7 separate regions of the Homo sapiens genome follow, and regions 1, 2, 3, 4, 5 and 6 are each linked to region 7. Evidence: promoter capture Hi-C in 16 types of primary human blood cells and fetal thymus (Javierre and others, 2016). All regions are on one chromosome and are shown on one strand. Each heading gives the region's core, a stretch centred on a gene start or on the middle of the fragment in contact. The rest is flanking DNA. Distances are from core to core; before and after follow the strand shown. Region 1 has its middle 49 kb from the start of IFRD1. Region 2 overlaps ZNF277 (zinc finger protein 277). Region 3 overlaps DOCK4 (dedicator of cytokinesis 4). Region 4 overlaps ZNF277 (zinc finger protein 277). Region 5 overlaps ZNF277 (zinc finger protein 277). Region 6 overlaps DOCK4 (dedicator of cytokinesis 4). Region 7 holds the start of THAP5 (THAP domain containing 5).

Region 1 (3,168 bases), core at 606-3,105, 3.8 Mb before region 7:
CGCGCCCGGCCCCAATCATAAATTATTAGCATGCAAAGAAGCAGGAAAATATTATCTATAACCAGAAGAAAAACTATGCATGAAGCACAGAGAGAAAAAAGACTAAGAAATACACACAGCATCAGTGACTGTGAGCAATATTAGGGATTCTAGCATGTGTGTAACTGGGGCTTATATTACACATGTTAGAAAAAATACGGGGATATTTGATGATACGATGATCAAATTTTTTCCGAATTTGATGAAAACTGTAAACTCACAGAATCTCCACAAACCCCAAGCAAAACATAAATTCAGAAAATAATGCCAAGACAAATTATAGAACATTATGTACAAAGAACAAAGATAAAAATGACAGCAAACTTCTAACCAGAAATCATGTAAGCTGGAAGAGGCTGGAACAGTATCTTTAGAGTACTGACAGAATAAACTTTCAAGCTAGAATCATTTACCCAAAGAGAATATCAGATAATGAAAAGCTAAGAGAATTCATTGCCAGTGAATTTATAAAAGAAATATTAAGTGAAGCTTTACAGGCATAAAGAAAATAATATTCATTGGTTTTAGCAAAGCATATCTTCTATGAATTGATATAAACTCCTAGAGATTAAAGTCATACACACATCTCTTACATTTTAGAAGGTATGTATAACAGCCCAATTTTGCCAAATAAACAATAAACTCAATTCTCACCTGTAAAATTGACTTTCTGTTCATTAGTTTAAAGAATTCGGAGAAGCAGAAATTAGTTTACTATTTAATTCACTGAAAGAGAGTCTACTAGATGAAATACATTGAACCTATGAAAATAGTATGTAGATTTTATAGGATCAGTACCTGCAAGTAGGTCATAAAGCCTGACCTGATACTAAGCATTTTCTAGGATATTATCACCAAATTTCTAAACTCACAGGGTCTCACTTTGTTAACAATCTGATATTAGCTGCTATGTAAAAACAAAATAATTTATTATAACCAAGACCATCTGCCAAATGATCATTTCCAAAATATAAAACTCCAATACCATTGTTGTAAGAAGTGTTTATGATAACTCCTAATGATCCTTGCTGCCTGATATTCATGCCCTTCTGTAATACCTTCTTTGAGTGTGGGCTGGACTTATTGGCTCACTTCTAATGAATAGAATATGGCAGAGGCTGGCTGCAGTGGCTCAAGCCTGTAATCCCAGCACTTTGGGAGGCCGAAGCAGGTGGCATGGTGAAACCCCTTCTCTACTAAAAATACAAAAATTAGCCGGGCATGGTGGCATGTGCCTGTTATCATGGCTACTCAGAGGCTGAAGTAGGAGAATCGCTTGAAACCCAGAGGCAGAGGCTGTAGTGAGCCAAGATTGTGCCACTGCACTCCAGCCTGGGTGACAGAGCGAGACTCAGTCTCAAAAAAAAAAAAGAATATGGCAAAAATTATAACATGTCACTTTTGAGATTAAGTCATAAAAAAGACTGGCTTCTATTTGACTTCTCTCCTCTCCTCCTTCTCCTCTCTCTTTCTCTCTCTGTCTCTTTTTCTCTCTTATCACTGGGTGTATGGAAAGTCAGCTGCCATGTCATGGGTCAGCCCTATGGAAAAACCCAACTGGCAAGAAATTGAGGGCTGCAAACAACCACATGAGTGATCTTCGGAGCAGACCCCAATGTCACTACCAGTTGAGCTGTTAGATAAGACCACAGCCCCAGTTGATAGCTTGATTGTAACCTTGAGAGATACTTTGAGCCAGAGGCACTCAACTGAGCTGTGCTTGGATTCCTGATTCATAGGAATTATTTTAAGCCTCTAAGGGTTAGGGTAATTTATTACACAGCAATACATAACTAATATAGCTATTATTCAGTAGTTTAAATACTTATTCATGAAAAAATATTGATGACTCTTTCCACATAATATAGGGGAAAATAATTCTACTTGCTACTTTGTGCACTATGTATTTTTACGGATCAGCCAACAGACCAACATGTGGCAAGCTATTACATGGAGATTGAAAATCTGGCACCATGAATTATTCAACCACTGTCTCCAATGAACGGTCTGACACAGAGGTTAGATTTACCAGGAACCAAAGTAACACCTGCAGTATCCAACTCTTGTTACCATTTTGTAATCTTGGAGAATTATTAGGTTCTTTGAAAAGTGTTCCAGAGTAGCATCTTTAATTGTGGATACCAGGTTCAAGTTAAACAACTTTCTGCCCACACAAATGTTAGAATTACATGATGACTTACTAATTCTCCCACTGAAAGAGCTGTACACAACCCTTTGACTATCTGGCTAAGATAGATCTTTGGGGACTAATAACCTAGGGCTCCCTGGGACCTAATAATTATATCAGACTAATATGTATATATAACTCTTTATATATATATATATATATATAACTCTTTATATATATATATAACTCTTTATATATACATATAAAACTCTAAATAACATCTATGCTGAAGCCATGAGACAAAGAAGATGATGATGAAAATAACATTGGTAGACAGTTTAAAGTTTATAATATTATACTATTTGTCATTCATAGTTTCATTTCTTTCCAAAAATCTTGTGTGCTTGTTATTATAAGCCCCTTTCACCATGCTACACTCTGCCTTGCACATAGGACAGAGTTTGATAACTCTAGAACAATTTGCCTCAGAGTAGTTGTTAACCTCCTAAACTGTGAAATGCCTACATAAAAAGTAAATCATTCCATCATAATGAGAAAAATCCTACTATCCTACTGCCTTCCCAACCTACCCTAGGCTGGAATTTGAGATTGTTTCTATTCCACACTGCTTAAGAAAATTTTTTTTAGTTGCTTTAATCTGGCTTAATGAGCTACATTCTCTGAGCCAATGGCTACCTTTCCTACCAACACCATAAACAAAACTGATCATATTTGTTAAGGGAAAAGGCAGTCCAATGACATGGTAATGAGTCCTGACTGTGGAATGTTCATCTCCTGCAGAAATTTATGGCCCCATTCACCACAGCATCATACGCCTCCTAGAAAAAGAAGCAGTACGTAGTTTATTCCTGTCTGGAAATTGATGTGTAGCCAGGGGTAGCATGTGCACATTCATATCTGCCTAAAGCAGGATGTAAAATGTGCCTATGAATCAAACATACTCTAGTATTTCTAAATCACAGAGAGTCAGGACTAGCTGC
Region 2 (3,224 bases), core at 119-2,618, 3.7 Mb before region 7:
TTTTATTGGCTAATATTTATTAAGTGCCTTCTATGTGCCAGGTAGTGTTCTAAGTATATTACATGTCACTTAATCTTCATAAGCCCTGCAAGATATTTTATCATTATCTCTATTACCAAGATAAGAATACATATTTATCTTTCTTCTCTAAGTAGACCGTACACTCTTGTATGATATGGATTATGCCTTGTACTCTTGTACTTCTTTGTATAGGCATCTACTTAAGCAGAAATTCAACGAGCATGTATGGATTGATTGCCTTTTCATTCTTCTTTTGTTTCTGTAAGCTGGCATAATGCTCACTTCCATTAAATGTATCACTATCAAACTGTAAAGTAAAAAAGGTAACTTAAATGCAGTATATGTAGGTATTTTTAGAGACCTGAGTCCATCTGCAGACACATCGTACAGATTCTGCATGCTAAAGAACAAGAATGGCTGAAGTAGTAGGGTTTGAGTTCTTATAAATAAATCCTTAGGACTACTAGGATCATGACATCTTTTGATCATTCTTAAGGCCACTGTTAGCAACAGTGAGAAAATTCATGTAAATTGGAAATTATGAATAAGTGCACGCAAATAACATCCATAAGACATGATAGTAAATTTAGCCTTGTTTTGCAGATTTCATAAGACACTGCTATAAGGAGAGAAGAGAAACTCAGGAAGTCCTATTTCTTTACTGCAGTTGTTGTACAGGAAAACTTTTCTTAGATATAAATCAACATCCAATGGTATCACCTTCCCCTACTGGAAGAAATAATCATTTGGGATGTCTACAAAATAAAATATGCTTCCAGGGACTTTCTTAAATTATATGACTATGGTAAATAGCATTTATTTTTCTCCTTGATCTCTTGAGGATATAGCACAAATATTTAAATCATTTCTCTCTCTTATAACATATTTAGCTAAGTCCAAAGATAAAAGAAAGACTTACAAGAAATCACTAAAGGAACAGCAAGTCAACTTCAAGTAATAGTCGAGATTAAATCACAAATAATGGGAACCCATGTACTTTTAAACAAAAGTAACAATTTAAAAAATTACTTTCTGATTAACTTACGAAAATAAAAATTTTCAGCCGGGTGCAGTGGCTCCCGCCTGTAATCTCAGCACTTTGGGAGACTGAGGTGGGCAGATCATGAGGTCAGGAGATCGAGACCATCCTTGCTAATACGGTGAAACCCCATCTCTACTAAAAATACAAAAAATTAGCCAGGTGTGGTGGCAGGTGCCTGTAGTCCCAGCTACTCGGGAGGCTGAGGCAGGAGAATGGTGTGAGCCCAGGAGGTGGAGCTTGCAGTGAGCTGAGATCACACCACTGCACTCCAGCCTGGGCAACAGAGCGAGACTCCATCTCAAAAAAAAAAAAAAAAAAAAAAAAAAAAAAAAATAAATAAATAAATAAATAAATAAAATAAAAATAAGAAAATAAAATAAAATAAAAATTTTCATGCTTGTATGTGCTGTTATCTTTTTTAAAGGCTAAAGATGCTGAGGTTTTCAAATTAGCTTGCTTATGGTTAAGCCTGAAAACCAGAAAGGCTACTATGTAGATTAAACCATATGCTTAATTCATAAAGGGAAATAAAAAAAATGCTAGTGCATAGCACATTCCAGTAAAGGGGAGAAAAAAAGGTTAATCAATTCAACTCAATTTTAGCTGAGGGCATTTTTCCATGACTACTGAACCCTAGCATGTGTCAGGCAGCTAAAATTACACTAAAATGTGTAAGTTCTGTTGTTATTTTAGAGATAATCCAGGAAGCAAAACAAAGCCAAAAATTCTCTCTGCATTTTTAACATAAAACGCTTTAATTTTCAGTCAAGTGTATACTTTTTTTTTGTTTTAAGACCTTTTTGTATTGTCTCCTCTTTTACATATGTTTGAAAGTTTCCATAACAAAAAGTAAAAAAAAAAAAAACCAATATGATTTTATATGTATTTATATGTATTTTCAAGACACTATTCACCCTTTAAAAACAATTCTTACCAGTCTCTGTTTCTGAAGCTCTTCTCTAAGAATTCTATCTTCTGGTAAAACGTCACATAACAAAAAATAATTCTCTTGTTCTTCTGTTGAGAGATTAGGAAAACAAATAAGAAAACAGATATTAACCATTTTTTCCCCAGAAGGACTTATTTCTTAAAAAATACAGATGTGTGTGTCTATTAGGATCTCTTTGGCATAGAACTGTTTTAGCTTTATTCAAGTTAGGCAAAATAAACACATCAATTTAATTTTATCTATCATGAAAGTAAAAGTAATTCTAATATAAGACAGTAAGATTATTCCTTTGAATTTTTATACTGTAGGGAAAAGATGGTAGCCAAGATGTACACTTACCAAATGGAGCAGTGGAATTAATTCTTATTACACTACAAAAATCTGTGATGGGCTGTTCAGTGAACCTTTTCCTCCAATATAAAATGTACCTTAGAACAACATAAAATAAGGAACGATGAGAAGATTCAATATACTATTTGCTTTAGAATGACAGGAATCTATAAGCACATTCACTCATCCCAAAGCAACAAATCAAATGTTAACTTAAAACTGCTTTTCTAGCAGTTTTTTGTGAATACAAAGGCAGTGGAGCATTATAGAAGTATCAAATAAAGATTTAATAAAAAGGAATTACCATGTAAGGGCATGAAAATGACTAAACTCTACTATCCCCAAATTCAATAAACAGACATATAGGAAAGTTAAAATGAATTATTTTTATGTGATAATGAATTTTTCTGAAATAACACCTAAGTTTATGTGTCTTTAAAATACAATAACGATTAAATAGGCTATGACACACTCTGCAGTAAAGAGAAAACTAAGTGGTTATCTTATGTATCAAAAGAACAGAGGTCAGAAGAATAATGCAATGAGAAATCAGTCTAAATTCAATATCAATATAACAAGACAGAAAAATTCCATATGTCTACACTGAGTCTGAAATGAGGCAAATTTAGACTTTGGAAAAATAGCCTAACTTACAATTCTTGTATCTAATGAGCAGAGTTAGAAGCAACACACCAGCTAAATTAAAAACCAAAGCCTAACACCCAGACCTACATATGTGATGAAAGAGGGAGTAAGATGACAGGATTTAACAAGTGGTTTATCTTTCCATTTATCTAACAAGATTTATATTGGCAACTGCAATCTCATTTATTGAATGGTACCAAGAAGAGAGTGTTATCTTCATAGAGAGAGGAAAAGGAA
Region 3 (3,401 bases), core at 878-3,377, 3.2 Mb before region 7:
TTTTAAAAGAAAACACATTTTAAACAAACTAGGGGACCTTCGCTTGCAGGACTGGTCAGGGCAGATTCCATCCCTTCCATATGCAGTTTCCACTCTTAACCTAAGAAACAGTTTAGAATAAACCAGAAAAACAGGATGAGGGATGCACAGGAAACACAGGAGGAGACAAGACAGAAGGCTGGGCACTAGAATGCCAATAACAAGAGAAAGAGGTAGGGGATGATGGAGAGAAAACTTGGGAGAGAACATAGCCACAGACAAGAGAAAGCTTTGACAAAACAGCTTTCTTCTTGAATGTTTATTTTTGAACTAAGTACATATATGATATGCTTAGACTGTACTTGTAAGAAATGTTTTCTCTCTTATTCCTGAAACTAAGATGAAAGACAAATAAGATTTTAGACAGAAATGGCAATCATTAAATTTCAAGGGGTAGGGAAGTATCCACATATTGCCATGCTTAATGTTCTTGCTTTTATCTTTTGGGGGAAGTTCAATCATAAAGCCTTTGCCAAGTACACTGTTAATTTGCTGAGAGGTGGGAGTGAAAGTGACACAGATTGTAATTATCATGATTGTTATTATTTTGTGTTTACATAGTACCTGTGCTCCAAGGTGCTTAGGATTAGGGGAAATGTAGGAGGAGAGATGTGGTTCAGTACTTGTCATCAATCTGCTGTAACAACCACATGGAAAATCCTCTGTGATTAGTGACAAAATGAATGAAACTGTTGAGTGAGTGCACAGATAGTACAATATGTATTGAGTGGGCAAATGTTAAGTGAAAGGAAAAAACGCAAAACGTCATACCAGCTGTACAAGGATTTTCCTGTAGCAGTTGCATTGCAGTAAAATTGCTTGGATGAAGATGCATTCCACTGAGAGGTAGGAAAATATTTTTATGTGAATAAAGCAAGATCTTGCTTAAAAGTAAACTTGGAGGCACTCCTGTTTTTGCTTTTTGCAGTGTTATTTGATGTGGTAAGACGCAAGCCTCTGTTAGTGTAAGGGAGAAGCTAGGAAAAAATGTCTTTGAGCTGTGAGATGCTTGTATATTTTGAAAATATGATTATATGCATGTGTTTGTATTTTATGACTTGGATAATCTGAAAATCAATTTGCTTTGTCAATGCTTCCTGGATTAGAATTCCACTATTTGGTCCCTATCCTAGGTAAGACATTGTTTGCAAATTGTGCTACTTGTGAGATGTTGCAGTGGTTGCTAAGGCATTTAAGGTACTGATGAAAGTAAAGTGGTTGTCATGGTGACTGATAAAAATAAATGTTGAAAATGCCCCGGGTTCTTTCTTTTCCAGTCTACTAAAGAAAATTGAGCGGGAAACATGGCGGGAAAGTGGCGTTTCATTAATTGCTACTGTAACTCGTCTAATGGAGAGGTTGTTAGATTACAGGTAAGCCAAGTCGCATGTTTTTCTGAACTCCAGTTCATGCTGAACTCCAGTTAGAAAATCAAATAGAATACAATCAACGTTCCACTCTTGTGAATCACTCAATTGATTATCAGACCATGGAACCTGGTATACTAAGATAATGAACTTCTAACCAGCTGGTTCAGAGCTGTTAATTTGAGCTTTTGTTTGTTTTTTGTTGCTTTGTTTTGTTTTTTGATAGTTCTTTCAAAGTCTTGGTGAATTGAGAGGATTCTCGGAGTCCCTGAGAGTTCTCAAAAAAAAAAAAAATCTTTATTTTGGTATTTAGACTTAGCCCCTAGAACCAGTAGAACCAATCCATTTTAGGGTGAAAACAATGTAATGGAGAATTGTACAATCATGCTATTCTCTTAAATATTCTCTTAAAAAGGGGACGTGGGTGAGATGAAACTCACAGTGTCACCTTCCATAGACCTATGTTTTTTATTTTTATATTATCTAAACTGTTAAAGTAGTTAATCCCACTTAAATACATGGTAGTTTGGTTTTATTTTAGGAATGAAACCCTCATTCTCATTGTTAATGGCCAGGCTTACCAGCCACTTCTCACCCTACTGTAGGAAGTGTACAATAACACATTTTCACTCCTCTAACTTCCTGAGCCCATGTCCATTGAGAGGGAGCATAATCTTGACATGGCAATGAAATTCTTAACAGAAGCTGATGCTCAGGAGTCTCTGACTCCCCAGATTCCCTAGAGATTAGATTATCAGTCCTTGGAACATGTATCTAAATGAACGAACGCTTGCAATGCAAATTGCCTCTGGTCCCTAAAAGTGGCTTCTTTTTTTTTTTTTTTCTTTCTTTCTTTCTTTTTTTCCCCCAAAAAGAACAAACTGTGTTTGCCCCTAGGAAGGAAGTTCTGAGTTCTGACTATTGCTTTTTGTTTTTAGGGACTGCATGAAAATGGGAGAGGTAGATGGCAAAAAGATTGGCTGCACAGTTAGCCTTCTGGTTAGTAAACTATTCCCCTTTTTCTCCTTTTCTCCTAATACTTGTATTTTTTTCCCAGAAATACTATGTTTTGTTTGTGTTTAATCTGCAATGTGATGTTTCTTAGAAGAGTTATTTTTAAATTTACAAGTGTTTTTAAGAGAAGCATAGTGAGCTGCAGGTTAAATTAAAGTCCAGGAAATCCTCAGTCCCAGACATTACAAGGTGCATCCCCTGCATTCCCCACAGCCCTAATAGGAGACCCGTGTGGGATCCCAGAGTGATGCCATTGGGTTCCCCGGTTGCACTACTTCACCCTCCTAGAGTCTTGTTGCTGTCCTAGCAAAAAGCACTGTATCCCCTGTTAGAGGTCTTTCTACTTTGTGTAGCAATTTCTTTCTGTTCTTTTCCTTTCTCACAGAGTGATATGCAGTCCACATTTTGATAAATATTAGTGATCTCTTCTTTTGTGAACAAATGACAGTTTTCTATTTAACACCCTAATTTTTACTCTAGCTTTTTTGCAAATTGAATTCATAATAGCACTTTTGTTAAGGTTTGCTTTGTAACTAGGATGACCAAGCAGGACATTTTTGAGAGTAAAATTAAACATTCTGTAAGGATAACAGGCTAATCCAAAGCTGTCCTGGGCAAGCCAACATTTATATAAAATGTCACATAACTAACTATTAAATAGAATGGTATTCTTACCACAGAGCAAAGGAGTGGCCCTACATTTAGATGTTTATTTGTCATATTTTAATGTAAGTCAAATTAATGTTTTGGATAAGTTCCTTCAATCAGATCTGAAGTACAGGAAAATATAAAATACAAGAAAAGTCTAGTTCTATATTTGTGAATCTCATGGTTTCTTTTTCTTATATTTTGTAGAATAAATGAATCCTCGCCATCTATTACATTCTAAGTTCTTGCACAGTCATTCTTATCCTTACTCTGATCATTTGAGTTCCTCACATGCCATATAGTTCTCTATTTGCTTGCACCTTGAAATTCTTT
Region 4 (3,155 bases), core at 126-2,625, 3.7 Mb before region 7:
GTTCCTCTGAACCCTTTTCCTGACTAGGCCCCGTCCTTGCCAGACCTGCATAGTTCAGTTTTATCAAGAATCCTGCTAAATCAGTTTAGAAAGAATCCCCCGTCCTCAATAACTCACCACCCTCAATAGCTGAAAAAAATTCTTGCCATCCCCCAGGTGATATCTGATTACCCTGGCCTGCCTTCAGCAGGAATCCCCCCTTATCCCTGATGCTTCCTCTTAGTGATTTTCCATCTCCCAAACCCTCCAACCTATTTCTTGACTATAAATTCCCACTTTTCCATGTTGTATTAGGAATTGAGCCCAGTTCTATACTGAGGTGTTGTTTCCTCACAAGCTTATCCAATCCCTGGCCCGTGGGCCACACACAGCCCAGGGCGGCCTTGAATGTGGTCCAACACAAATTTGTAAACTTTCTTAAAACATTATGAAATTTGTTTACAATTTTTTAAAGTTCATTATCTATTGTAAGTGTTAGTGTATTTTATGTGTGGTCCAAGACAATTCTTCTTCCAATGTGGCCCAGGGAAGCCAAAAGATAGGACACCCCTGCTCTACTGTAGGAGTTCCTGAATAAAATATTTTTTCTGCCAGTTTACTGTCCAGCTCTAGTTTTTCTTTAATACTACCCGCTACCAGATCTCTCTACTTCTCTGTATTCTAACTGATGCCTGTCTAATCTCTATGGCATACTCTGCCTGCAGTCATCTGGGCATTCTAAATGACAGTGCCCGAGCAGAACCCAACTTATTAAAGTAGACAGAATCTTCATATACAACCTGCTCTGTCCCAGCACATTTTTCTAATCCCAGAAATTTCCTTACAGGAGTCAGCTATGCTCTGACTTTATTAACAAGGGCAGAGCTCTTTGCTTTTGAATGTGACAAGGAAGACTGCAACCCCAATTGCTTCTGAAAGCCTTCCTGTGACTATGGTTGTCTGTAATACCTAGTTTAAAAAATTCTAACCAGAGAATTCTGGGTCGGCAAGACAGTGGAATAGGAGGTCCTCTGCTTATATCCCTGCTTCTCTCAAAAAATTTTGCAGCCATCCCTGGACAAAAGCGCCTTTGTGGGAGCCTTGGGATTTAGGCAGGAGTTTCTAAAACCCCAGTGGAGTCTAAAAACCTAGAAGGGTCATTTTGAGAGGGCAAACCTACGACCAGGTGGCAGACTCATGAACTGTGATCTTGGCTCCGGACTTGGAAATGACCCTGTCTCCCTGTGGACTTGGCTACAGCCCCATTTGGATTTGGGCCTCTTCCAAAACTATCCACCATGGAGACTGGGAAAAGTCACACATACTAGTGCCTAGGGAGACAGACCTGTTGACCTCAGTCTCTGCTGTGGACCCTAAAAGGATCCTTTAACTTGGCTCCAGGCCTTCTCAGCTACAGTCCTAGATCAGTGTTCCTGGAACAAAGACACAGAGGGAGACACACCATTCTGAGTCCCCTGGGCCAGCTTGCAACCCTCAGTCCAACAGCAGATCCTGAAATGGCCCCGAATCTCATCTTCGAGCCTCTATCAGCTGTGGAATGACAGTAGTGCTGCCTAGCCAGGGATCAGCTGGGAGACATGCTACGTTAGTCAGGGTTCTCTAGAGGGACAGAACTAATGAAACATATACATATAAAGGGGAGTTTATTAAGTATTAACTCACACAATCACAAGGTCCCACAATAGGCCATCAGCAGGCTGAAGAGCAAGGAGAACCAGTCCGAGTTCCAAAACTGAAGAACTTGGAGTACGATGTTCGAGGGCAGGAAGCATCCAGCATGGTAGAAAGATGCAGGCTGGGAGGCTACGCCAGTCTCTCTTTTCACATTTTTCTGCCTGTTTATATTCTAGCTGTGCTGGCAGCTGATCAGATGGTACCCACCCAGATTAAGGGTGGGTCTGCCTTTCCCAGCCCACTGACTCAAATGTTAATCTCCTTTAGCAACACCCTCACAGACACGCTCAGGATCAATACTTTGTATCCTTCAATCCAATCAAGTTGACACTCAGTATTAACCATCACACATGCCTATTCATATCCCAAGGGCAGGCTTGCAGTACTCAGTCCCACAGTAACAACTAGAAAAATAATAGAAAGGATCAACACAACTAAAAGTTGATTTCTGGAAAAGATACACAAAATTGACAAACCCTTAGCTAAGCTAACTAAGAAAAAAAAGACAGAAGCCTCAAATACATTAAATCATAAATGAAGGAGATATCACAGCTGATACCACAGAAATACAAAGGATCATGAGGGTACTATGAGCAATTATATGGCAATAAATTGGATAACCTAGAAGAAATGGATAAATTCTATACACATAGAACCTAGCAAGACTCAATTATGAAGAAAGGGAAAATGTGAACAGCTCAATATCAGGTAAGGAGATTAATTCAGTAACAAAAGCTTTCCCATGAAAGAAAAGCCCAAGACCTAACGATGTCACCGCTGAATTCTACCAAACATTTAAAGATGAACTAACACCAATGCTTCTCAAACTCTTCCAAAACACTGAAGAGGAGGAACCACTTCCAAACTCATTTTACAAGGTCTGAATCACCCTGATACCAAAGCCAGAGAAGGACACTTCAAGAGAACAAAAGTACAGGGCAATATCCCTGATAGACAAAATACTCAACAAAATAGTTGCAAACTAAATTCAACAGCACACTGAAAGAATCATTCACCAAAATCAAGTGGAATTCATCTCAGGGATATAAAGATGGCTCAAAATACATGACTCTATAAATGTGATAAACCATGTTAATAGGATGAAGGACAAAAAATATATGACTCCATAGATGTGGAGAAAGTATTTTAACAAAATTCAACATCTCTTCATGATTAAAAGCATAGAAGGAATCTACCTCAACACAATAAAGGCCATTTATCAGGAGTCCCCAACCAGTACTGGTTTGTGGCCTGTTAGGAACTGGGCCACACAGCAGGAGGTGAGCTGCATGTGAGTGAAGCTGAGCTCTGCCTCCTGTCAGATTAGTGTCAGCATTAGACTCTCATAGGAGTGTGAACCCTACTGTGAACTGTGCATGCAAGGGATCTAGGTTGCACACTCCTTATGAGAATCTAACGCCTGATGGTCTGTCACTGTCTCCCATCACCCCCAGATGGACTGTCTAGTTGCAGGAAAACAA
Region 5 (3,570 bases), core at 479-2,978, 3.7 Mb before region 7:
GCTTCTAATCACAGCATGTTGAAAGGCTGATGCAGGAGGATCACTTGAGCCCAGGAGCTCAAAACTGGCTTGGGTAACATGGCAAGACTCAGTCTTTACAAAAAATAAAAAATCAGCTGGGCATGGTGGCACACACTTGTGGTCCCAGCTACTTGGGAGGCTGAGGTGAGAGGATTGCTTGGGCCCGGGAGGTTGAGGCTTCAGTGAGCTGTGATCGTGTCACCTCACGCCAGCCTGGGTGACAGAGCAAAACCCTATCTCAAAAAACAAAGGCAAAATGAAAATTAATAAAAAATAAACTTTTGAAAGTACCATATAACCACTCATTTAAATTCTTATTTTTGAACATGTGAATTTCTCAAACTTTTCTAACAAGATATATATATATATATATCTCATACTATATATTAATATATAATTGCTATAAAGCAAGACTCGATTTGAAAATGAAAACTAATAAATTGTCTTTTAGTTCTAGTATATGAGATAGAAACTTTCTTAAATTAGGCAAGTCTTAGCTGATACTCATTTGATCATCACAGTTTTATGAACTTATTTCCCTAGAAAGTAATTCTCCCTTCTAGTTCACTTTCAGGCAAAAGGCTCTGCTAGATACTGAGGAGCAAGCAATTGAAGAAAAAAAATAGAGCTACCTTAACCTCAAATAACCACATTTTTTTTTAGACGGAGTCTCGCTCTGTTGCCGAGGTTGGAGTGCAGAAGAATCTACATCTTTTCCACCAGAGAGGGTGGTTATGTTCACAGACACACCTAACACAACTTTAGAATGTCAGGGAGCAAGATGGTTGAATAGAAGCCTTGACCGGTAATCTTCCTGGCAGGAACACCAAATTGAAAAACTATCCACACACAAAAGAATGCACCTTCATAAGAACCAAAAATCAGGTGAGCAGTCACAGTACCTGGTTTTAACTTCATATCCCTGAAAGAGGCACTGAAGAAGGTAGGAAAGACAGTCTTGAATTGCTCATGTCACCCTTCCCCCATCCCCCAGCAGTGGCCATGTGGCCTGGAGAGAGAATCTGTATGTTTGGTGGAGGGAGAGTGCAGTGATTGTGCGACTTTGCATTGGAACTCAGTGTTGCCCTGTCACAGCAGAAAGCAACACCAGGCAGAACTCGGCAGGTGCACATGGAGAGAGCATTTAGACCATCCCTAGTCAGAGGGGAATCACCCATGCCAGCGGTCACAACCTGAGTTCCAGCAAACCACGGGCTAAAGTGCACTTGGGTCGCAAATAAATTTGAAAGGCACTCAGCCACAAGGACTGCAATTACTGGGCAAGTCTCTGTGCTGTGCTAGGCTCAGAGCCAGCGGATGTGGGGAGCATGTGACCCAGTGAGACACCAGCCACGGTGTCTAAGGAAGTGCTTGTGCCACCCCTGGCAAACAGGCATATGAAAAGTTGCTCAACATCACTGATAATCAGAGAAATGCAAATCAAAACTACAATGAATATCATCTCACCCCAGTTAAAATGGCTTTTACCCAAAAGACAGAAAATAACAAATCCTGGTGAAAATGTGTAGAAAAGGGAATCCTCATATACTGTTGGTGGGAACACAAATTAGTATAGTCACTATGGAGAACAGTATGATGGTTTCTCAAAATACTAAAAATAAGGCCGGGTACAGTGGCTCACGCCTGTTATCCCAGCACTTTGGAAGTCCGAGGTGGGCGGATCACTTGAGGTCAGGAGTTTGAGACCAGCCTGGCCAACATGGTGAAACCCCGTCACTACTAAAAATACAAAAATTAGCCAGGCATGATGGTGTGTGCCTATAATCCCAGCTACTCAGGAGGCTGAGGGAGGAGAATCGTTTGAATCTGGGAGGCAGAGGCTGAAGTGAGCCAAGATTGTGCCATTGCACTCCAGCCTGGGCGACAGAGGAAGACTCTGTCTCGAAAAAATAAACAAAGAAACAAACAAACAAAAACAACTAAAAATAGAACTACTATGTGATCCAGCAATCCCACTGCTAAGTATATACCCCAAATAAAGGAAATCAGTATATTGAAGAGATATCTGCTGTTTGTTGCAGCACTGTTCAAAATAGTTAAAATTTGGAAGCAACGTAAGTGTCTGTCAATGAAGGAATAAAGAAAATGTGGTATACACAGTAGAGTACTATTCTGCCATAAAAAAGAATGAGATCTTGTCATCTGCAACAATGTGGATGGAACTGGAGGTTATTATGTTAAGTGAAATCAGCCGGGAACAAAATGACAAACTTTGCATGTTCTCCCTTATTTGTGGGAGCTAAAAATTAAAACAATTGAGCTCATGGAGATAGAAAATAGGATAGTTACTAGAGGCTGGCTAGTAGGGGGTAGGGGGAAGGGAGTATGGTCAATGGGTATAATTATAGTTAGATTAAATAAGAGCTAGTATTTCACAGTACAACAAAGTGATGATACTGTGTAACAATGTACTGTACATTTAAAAATCACTAAAAGTAAAATTAGAATGTTTGTAAGACAAATAAAGGATAAATTCTTGAGGTAATGGATATTCCATTTATCCTGATGTGATTATTATGCACTGTATGTGTGTATCCAAATATCTCATTTATCCCATAAATACCTACACCTAGTATGTACCCATAAAAACTTTCTTAAAATTAAAAAAAAAAGAATGTCAGAAGCATCAGAGGAGAAAAAAAGAACCAAGTATAATTTTAAGATAGCCCATATCTAGCAAGTAAGATACTAAATCACTAGATTCATGTCCTCCATTTCCAGTTACATGCCTGCCTGCTAAGGCAGGTGGTTTGGCCTTACTTTGAAGTATTTAATAAATCCTTTTTCTTCAAGTTACTTGGACCCATCAGGATTTGGGCTGCTTTTAAAAAATGTAGTTATAAGCAGTCTTTTAAAGCTCCTGCAAAACACCTGAGATTCAGTCATGTTCAGGACACTTAAAAAATATAATTCTCCAATTTATTTGTCTACTGACAATTACTCTATGTTCTCAGTGACATTAAGTATCATAAATCCCATCTCCATGATGTAACAGAATCCTCTACAAATATGTGACCACATCAGAAAGATCACTTGACTTCAAAGAGGAAGGATGAGGGAATAAAATGATGCTGGACAATAAAACAAGACACAACAGATTTTATTCCTAGCATTTTGGATACGGTATTAAATTTCCTGTTTTACATAACAAAAATAAATCCAAAAGGTGATAGAAATCTCGTATCTCTGAAAGAATAGGTTGTCTAGTTTACATAAATGGTACATGTTGCAAATTACTCATAACAATTAACAATGAATTCTGCCAGCAGTTAATCTGATTAGCACTAGCTTCAATGGAATGTCTAAATGGAACTTTACTGAAAATGACATCCTAATGAATACCATTATTTTTACTTTCAGGCAACAATTCTCAATCCTAACAGTATGTATGAATCAACTTGGGAGCTTTGAAAATATGCTGATTTTTTTACACAGAGATTCTAATGTATGGCTGGGATATGTTTTGTATTTTATTTTATTTTTATTTTTATTTTATTTTTTGCTACTCCCAGCTGCTTAGACAGAGAT
Region 6 (3,178 bases), core at 120-2,619, 3.6 Mb before region 7:
CATACAGGATAGTTAGGTGTCTTTCTCCTTAGAAAGATGCTTTAATCATAGCGTATGTGTGTGATAGAGCGTAATAAGGATGTGTTTCCTTTACTCTTAGTTTTTTGTAGTTTCTTAGCTAACAGTTTCTTAAAGTGTTTTCTATTAGTGGTCCTATGATGTATCTACATAGCATGTAAAGCTAAATAATAATGTTCTGCTTGGAATTGTTTGTGACATTTAGAGCCTGACACAGGATTCTAAACTTTAAGTGGGAATAGAAGAGAAATGATTTATACCTCCCAGTAAAATACCACCGAAGGGCCATACAGACAGTGGGATAGCAGCTTATGTTCTTGATCTGGCCTCCTATGGGAATGGTCTATAAAAATGTTCCCCTCTTTTGGTCATTCCCCTAAGTGACAGTTCTTCACAAGGCCCCTGAAGCCACATAGAGATGCTGCTCTTCCTCTATGATCTTGTTTTTTTTTGTTTTTTTTTTTTTATTTTAGAGGCTGTTATGGTAGCTAGTACGAGGGAGATTATACAAATTTCAAGAAATTTAGGATTTCCTATCTCTAGCTCTATTCTTTTCCAAAAGGAGACAACATTTTCTGAGTTATGTTTGATACAATATGTCTATGTTTCTATCACAGTGACTTCATGCTGTGAATATATACATCAGAGGAACATTAAACTCTAATGAAACCCTTCTAAAAGGCTGTAACCGTAACACAGTAATACAATGTTTTACTTAAAAAGTGAAATTATTTTATCTGAGTCTACCCTTTGAAGTTGAATGGTAATTTCTATTTAAGAGATGAGAAAACAGTTTCATAGAGTTTAAGTGACTTACTCTAGATTAGTAGCTTTTAATCTTGTTTGACTATTACCCATAAGAAATATAGTTAATTTCCTGACCTAGTATATATATAAATATCCCCCAGTACCACCCCACACACATATAATTAAAACAGCACTTGCTTATACTCTATGTAATGTTCTATTCTTTTTTGTTAAAAAAAATACTTGTCACTAAATTGACTTGTTAATGGGTCCTGACCCACAGTTTGAAAAACACTGCTTTAAATGCTACATTTGTGATACCAGAAGGACTGCAACTCACATCTTACTGGGTTTCTGTGAAGTTCCTTTCATGACATTGGCAAGGAGTTGATGGTGGTGGTGGTTATTGTCTTTGATAGTCAGATATGTGGGTTTATTTTAACAAAGAATTTAATTATCCTTTTTTCCTTCAGTCTAAGTCAAAGTCTGTCTTCTGTAGTATTTCTTATTAAAGATGGAACAAATATTTAAAGCCATCACATGCATTGCGTAAGTTTTCTCTTTTAGTACTTGTATGTCTTCCTACCAGGACCTTTTTGACAAGGATTACATAATGACCAATATTAGACTCTTCTGTATCATGTCCTTTGACAACACTCTCTGGTCACTATAACAGAAGAGTAAAGATAATGGTTTACTGAGGTACTTTGCCAGTTGTAGGTTTACCACTCACTATTCTTTTGTACCTTTTTTTATGTTGCTGATCATTATTAGAAAGACAAGGCAACTTGTATAACTTGTTTTATTAAAAAAGTGAACTATATGCTTATTTGGCTAGAGTATATAAGACAAAAAAATAAGGAATTAAAGTTCCCCAAGCCTAGCTTCATTTAAGCAACTTAAACTTACTTCAGGAACAACTCTTGGACTCTCTGGCATTTAAAAAAAATTGTGCCAAGATGACATTGGGTAACTACTAAGTAAATAAAAATCATCAAAAAAGTGGAATGCCTTTGGTAACGTAACTGCAGTAAAACTGATATGCAGTACCCTGAGGAATGTATGGTAATCATGATCCTTTTGGAAACTTTTATATAACTTTTATTGGAAACTGCAATATAAAATAGCATTTGTGGAGCACTTGCTACATGTCAAGCACAGTTCTAAGAGCTTGTCTTATATTGTCATTTAATCTTCATGATACCTCATGAAGGAGGATTCAGTTATCACTCATATTTCACAGGAAATTGAGTCATACAGGGATTAAGTAACTTATTTAAGGTCATACTGTAAATGGTGGAGCTAGGATTGGAACCTAAATTGTCTTGCATAGAAACTGTTCTCTTAGCCATTACGCCATGTTACCTAGTATGACAGTGGTTAGCAGAAGTTTGAATCAGTAATCCCACCCCTTAAAGTTTATGTGACAAAATAAATCAATAGCAACAAAACACTTTATGCACAGAGTTGTCCCTTGCCGTGTTGTCTGTGAAACAACTTACATGACCATGTAGTCGTTAAATCAGTTTTGGTTATGAGCACGTTGGAGCATCAGACAATCATGAAATGAAATATTTTCATAAACAACACTATTTCAAAAATATATTCCAGGTATCTAGTGTTAAATGACAAAAGAAGAGTAAATATAGACTATGATTAGAGCTACATAAAATGTGTAGCCTATAGAGAAGAGGCAGTCGATGCACAGATGAGAACAATTTTTTTGTTAGAATATATAGATTATCAGTAAGTTCTTTTTTAAAAAATCTGTTTGGAAATATGAGCAGTATTGAATTTTAAATTACACATTGTTATTTATGAAGGAAGAGGTGGCATAAAAATGAGTAAAGAGAGGCACTGCAGTAACTGAGGTGAGAGATAAGTCCATGAATCAGGTTAGCAGTCATTGTCATGGTGAAGTGTGGATAGATCTGAGAGATATTTAGGAAATGAAAGCAACAGGTTTGGTCATCAGATATGAGGAGTTAAAGTAAGGAAGGAGTTTAGGATGTTGTCTTAGCTCAGGATACTATAACAAATATAGACTGGATAGTTTAAACAAAAGAAATTTGTTTCTCACAGTTCCGCAGGCTAGGAAGTCCAAGATCAAGGTGTTGGCTGAGTCAGTTCCTGGTGAGGGCCTTCTTCCTGGTTTGCAGGTGGACATCTTCTTGCTGTATCTTCACGTGGGTAGGGGGAAGGGGTCATGGGGAGGAAAGGAAGCAAGCTTTCTCTCATCTCTTCTTATAAGGTCACGAATCCCATCATGAAGGCTCCCCCTCATGGCCTAATTACCTCCCCAAGTCCCCCATCTCCAAATACCATCACATTGAGGATTACAGTTTCAATATGTGAATTTTGGGGGCATATAAACGTGATTTATAGCAGATGTCTTCCTGTTTTTGGCTTGGGT
Region 7 (3,363 bases), core at 423-2,922:
ATAAGATCCCAACTTTCCTTTCAAGACTTCATATCCTGAAAGTAATAATGTATTTAACTTCACAGAAAAAAAAAACATTAAAAAAAAAAGGTGGCGCACCAAGGTAAATAGCCCAGTATATCTAAATTAGTATTATTAATCTCGCTCCAAAAATTCAGCTTTCATTTCAGCAGGTGAGCCAAGGACTGCAAATAGAGAATCTTAATATCACAATACTAATACTGACAATACAATAGAATGTTGTCTTTTTCCCAAATGTAAGATCCCAAATGTTTAACCAGGAAGCATGGCTAAATATTGTTTAAAACTCATGATGAACAGAATTTAAGATTTCTGCTAAAGCTGCCAGAAAAATGAACTTTGATAGTTTGTACTGTGGTTAAGGCAGATTCTTACTTTCACAAACTCAGTAGTTAAAATATTTCTTTTACCTTTAAACCATTAAAGAAATGTTAACTTAGAATTCTTGACAATATGTATTCAATGACTTGAGATTCAAAACGAAGGGATGGATCCTGTTTTTTGAATACGGGACCACCAGAGTCCTTAGTAACCTATAATGCCATAATAAGGCTGACGAAAAACACTACGGTTTGTGGAAATTGCCTGGCTTCCTCTCCAGCGGCCTTTCCTGAGAGTAATTAGCAGGCAGGTAGATTACTTATTTCCAGAGAGTTACTCGTAGTCACGGGTACCAAGAATCAAGAACCACTTCTCGGTTTAAGGAACACAACAGTGTGTCCCATGGACGCTGCGTCAACTGCAGGTTGCTCCCTAGTCAAAGGGCGGATCTAAAACTGACAGGGAGGCGCCTCACTGGTTCAGCAGACGTTATTCCACGGTCTCAAGGTGGACATCTAATGATTTTTTTTTAGCAGACTAGTTTTGTATTGTACAGACTTCTCATCCCCAAGACGGCCCCGCCAGCCAGCAGCCCGTGCCTTATTCCCCAGCCTCGGTGGGCGGCTGGGCTAGACCCTCCAACCTTCACCTAAAGGCGACTGGCACTTTCCCTGCCCGCCCAGGCCCCGCCGCAGAAGCTGCCCGAGACCCGGGCTCTAATCCGGCGCCCGTGAAAGCCGGCGCCACAACCCAAAACACGATTCTGTGATGCGGCTGTCTCCGTTCTTCCATTCTCTCGGCCAAAAACATGCAGCCCATTGTCCCTGCGGCGACCGTGGCGGACACCGAGGCCAAGTCAGCTCACAAAGACAGGCCTGGGCTACGGGGACCCTCCGAACTCCCCTCCCCACGACCCCGGCCTCGTCCCTCACCTGCACCCTCCGACTACTGCTGCTCCTCCACAGAGCTGAGGCGCTGGCGACCCTGACGATCGGCTCGGGTCGGCAGCTTGGGCCCGGCCCCTCACCGCGGCCTCCCGGAGCTGGCACGCACCCTAATCTCGGTCGTACACCGACCTAGCGCTCCTCCTTCCCCGCCGGCGCCCAGTCCCCTCTCAGCCAGCTCCTCACAGGCAGGAGGTAGCCGCTGGCGCCACCACCTCAGAAGACCTACACGAAACGCTTCCCCATTGGCTTCTGCCTCCCCACGTGATCCCGGCGCCCTACGCGCACGTGGAAAACTGTTGTTGCTGCTAGGGCTGTGCGCCACTTCCGGCTTCAACCCCCGAAAAGGCGGTGCTTAAACCGGAGGAGGCGGAAGTGAGTCGACAGACGAGGCGGCTTTCCCGGCAGAATGCTAGCGCAGGCGCAGGGGCTCGAGAGGCCTGGACCTGTGGCGCATCCTCAGTGAGGAGGGCCGCCCTGCATCCGTCGCCGGCCCCGGTCTCCAGGGGCCTCACCCGAGTCATGCCCCGCTATTGCGCAGCGATTTGTTGTAAGAACCGCCGGGGACGAAACAATAAAGACCGGAAGCTGAGTTTTTATCCGTAAGTTGTTTCTGGAGCAGAAGCGTCAGCCTCGCCGTGAGGCCTTGGACCTGTGGCCTTTGGGCTTGGGTGTCTCCTGTCCGCTCTGCCAGTGAGTCCTCAGCTCTCCGTACGTGGCCCGTCGCCCGCGGCAAGACGGAGGGAAGGCGCTAGTTCAGTTTAGCTAGCAATGCCCTTCTTGCGCGAGGACTGCTGGCTGGTGGCGAGGCCCAGGAGCCTGTTTGGGTGTTAACAGTTAAAACAGTAAAGTTTGCGCGGGCTTCTGTGGTTTTCAGTCTTTTCCCCACTTCACGTGATCTCATTTCATTGAACAACATTAACCACCATTTAAGATACGTGAAACCTGCGAAGTGGAAAGGTGCACGCAAAGTTAATTTACACCCCCCGCGAGGTAGGTCGCATAGGTATAATTTCATCCCACTTTTCTCCTGAGGAAACTGAGGCCCGGAATGATTAGGTAACCGACCTTGAAAGTTTAGTGTCAGAGCCAGAATTATAAACTAGTCTTCTGCTTAGGGCTGTAGATACTCTGCGGAGAACAAGGTTTTATTCTGTTACTCTGAATTACTAGAGCCACGATATATTTCCATCAAACTACTGAAGCACTGATTTTTATTCAGAAGTACAGACAAGCAGTGTCGTATAATAATTAGGGGTCCAGGCTTCAATGCTAGATCCTGGTTCCACTATTCTGTAGCTTAATGACCTCTTGGAAAGTATTTAAGCTTTGGTGTCTCACATATCTCATCTGTAACATGGAGATGTTAATAGTACTCACATGATTAATAACACATGAAAAGCAACATATTTAAAATACTGCATTTCCATTTTTTCTTGTATTTAAAAACAATTCATTTAGATCTAACCTGGTTCAGATTTTCAGCAGTTGTTTTGTGCTCATTTTACTTTAGACCTGAAGGACTTATTCATTAATGATTCGGCTGCTTTCCAGTATTTTAATTAATGGAAAAAAAATTGATAACCCCACCAGGCGCGGTGGCTCACGCCTGTAATCCCAGCACTTTGGGAGGCTGAGGCGGGCAGATCACCTGAGGTCGGCAGTCTGAGACCAGCCTGACCAACATGGAGAAACCCCGTCTGTACTAAAAATACAAAATTAGCTGCGCGTGGCGGCGCATGCCTGTGATCTCAGCTGCTCGGGAGGCTGAGGCAGGTGAATCGCTTGAACCTGGGAGGTGGAGGTTGAGGTGAGCCGAGATCACACCATTGCACCACAGCCTGAGCAACAAGAGCGAAACTCCGTCTCAAAAGAAAAAAAAACTGATAACCCCAAGTAATTCACAATCCATGGCAATATTTCCAGGATTGTCTCCCTTGAAGCCCAGCCTCAAGATGCAAAGAGATGTTTGGGGGAGGAAAACAATCTAATCCACTTTCAGTTTATAGGGAAATACTACTGTACTAATGGCTCTATCTCTGAGAATGTTTGTAGCAAAAGATCATGTTGAACTTGA

What was found. Contacts are between HindIII fragments. The CHiCAGO score rates a contact against its expected background, and 5 or more counts as called.
Region 1: a fragment that was not itself captured here is called in contact with the fragment with the promoter of THAP5 in region 7 in 9 of 17 cell types (total CD4 T cells, fetal thymus, naive CD8 T cells and 6 more); the score reaches 25.0 in total CD4 T cells.
Region 2: a fragment that was not itself captured here is called in contact with the fragment with the promoter of THAP5 in region 7 in 1 of 17 cell types (total CD4 T cells); the score reaches 13.2 in total CD4 T cells.
Region 3: a fragment that was not itself captured here is called in contact with the fragment with the promoter of THAP5 in region 7 in 1 of 17 cell types (M0 macrophages); the score reaches 5.7 in M0 macrophages.
Region 4: a contact is called between a fragment that was not itself captured here and the fragment with the promoter of THAP5 in region 7, in 5 of 17 cell types (total CD8 T cells, non-activated CD4 T cells, activated CD4 T cells and 2 more). The highest score is 10.6, in total CD8 T cells.
Region 5: a contact is called between a fragment that was not itself captured here and the fragment with the promoter of THAP5 in region 7, in 2 of 17 cell types (M2 macrophages and total CD4 T cells). The highest score is 5.8, in M2 macrophages.
Region 6: a contact is called between a fragment that was not itself captured here and the fragment with the promoter of THAP5 in region 7, in 8 of 17 cell types (non-activated CD4 T cells, activated CD4 T cells, total CD8 T cells and 5 more). The highest score is 22.2, in non-activated CD4 T cells.

Annotation. Positions count from the first base shown.
Region 1 is chr7:112,400,163-112,403,330 of GRCh38, reverse strand. No RefSeq gene overlaps it. Among named protein-coding and RNA genes, the nearest start is that of IFRD1, 49 kb to the left of the region's middle. The HindIII fragment of the contact is 2,650 bases long and covers 531-3,168 here.
Region 2 is chr7:112,295,085-112,298,308 of GRCh38, reverse strand. It overlaps ZNF277 (zinc finger protein 277), which reads right to left. Exons shown (of 12, transcript NM_021994.3): 3 at 2,352-2,440; 4 at 1,998-2,080. Among named protein-coding and RNA genes, the nearest start is that of ZNF277-AS1, 54 kb to the left of the region's middle. The HindIII fragment of the contact is 3,721 bases long and covers 1-3,224 here.
Region 3 is chr7:111,781,868-111,785,268 of GRCh38, reverse strand. It overlaps DOCK4 (dedicator of cytokinesis 4), which reads left to right. Exons shown (of 53, transcript NM_001363540.2): 33 at 1,146-1,172; 34 at 1,317-1,412; 35 at 2,345-2,405. Among named protein-coding and RNA genes, the nearest start is that of DOCK4-AS1, 25 kb to the left of the region's middle. The HindIII fragment of the contact is 3,714 bases long and covers 271-3,401 here.
Region 4 is chr7:112,221,592-112,224,746 of GRCh38, reverse strand. The region is part of intron 1 of ZNF277 (zinc finger protein 277); the gene reads right to left. Among named protein-coding and RNA genes, the nearest start is that of ZNF277, 16 kb to the right of the region's middle. The HindIII fragment of the contact is 2,072 bases long and covers 340-2,411 here.
Region 5 is chr7:112,270,867-112,274,436 of GRCh38, reverse strand. All of the region lies in intron 1 of ZNF277 (zinc finger protein 277), which reads right to left. Among named protein-coding and RNA genes, the nearest start is that of ZNF277, 66 kb to the right of the region's middle. The HindIII fragment of the contact is 7,429 bases long and covers 1-3,570 here.
Region 6 is chr7:112,198,032-112,201,209 of GRCh38, reverse strand. The region is part of intron 1 of DOCK4 (dedicator of cytokinesis 4); the gene reads left to right. Among named protein-coding and RNA genes, the nearest start is that of DOCK4, 6.8 kb to the left of the region's middle. The HindIII fragment of the contact is 3,251 bases long and covers 1-2,994 here.
Region 7 is chr7:108,568,015-108,571,377 of GRCh38, reverse strand. It overlaps THAP5 (THAP domain containing 5), which reads left to right and starts at 1,672. Exons shown (of 3, transcript NM_001130475.3): 1 at 1,672-1,888. The coding sequence starts at 1,809. It overlaps DNAJB9 (DnaJ heat shock protein family (Hsp40) member B9), which reads right to left and starts at 1,504. Exons shown (of 3, transcript NM_012328.3): 1 at 1,275-1,504. RefSeq lists enhancers at 1,349-2,076, 1,610-2,089. The HindIII fragment of the contact is 6,219 bases long and covers 1-2,615 here.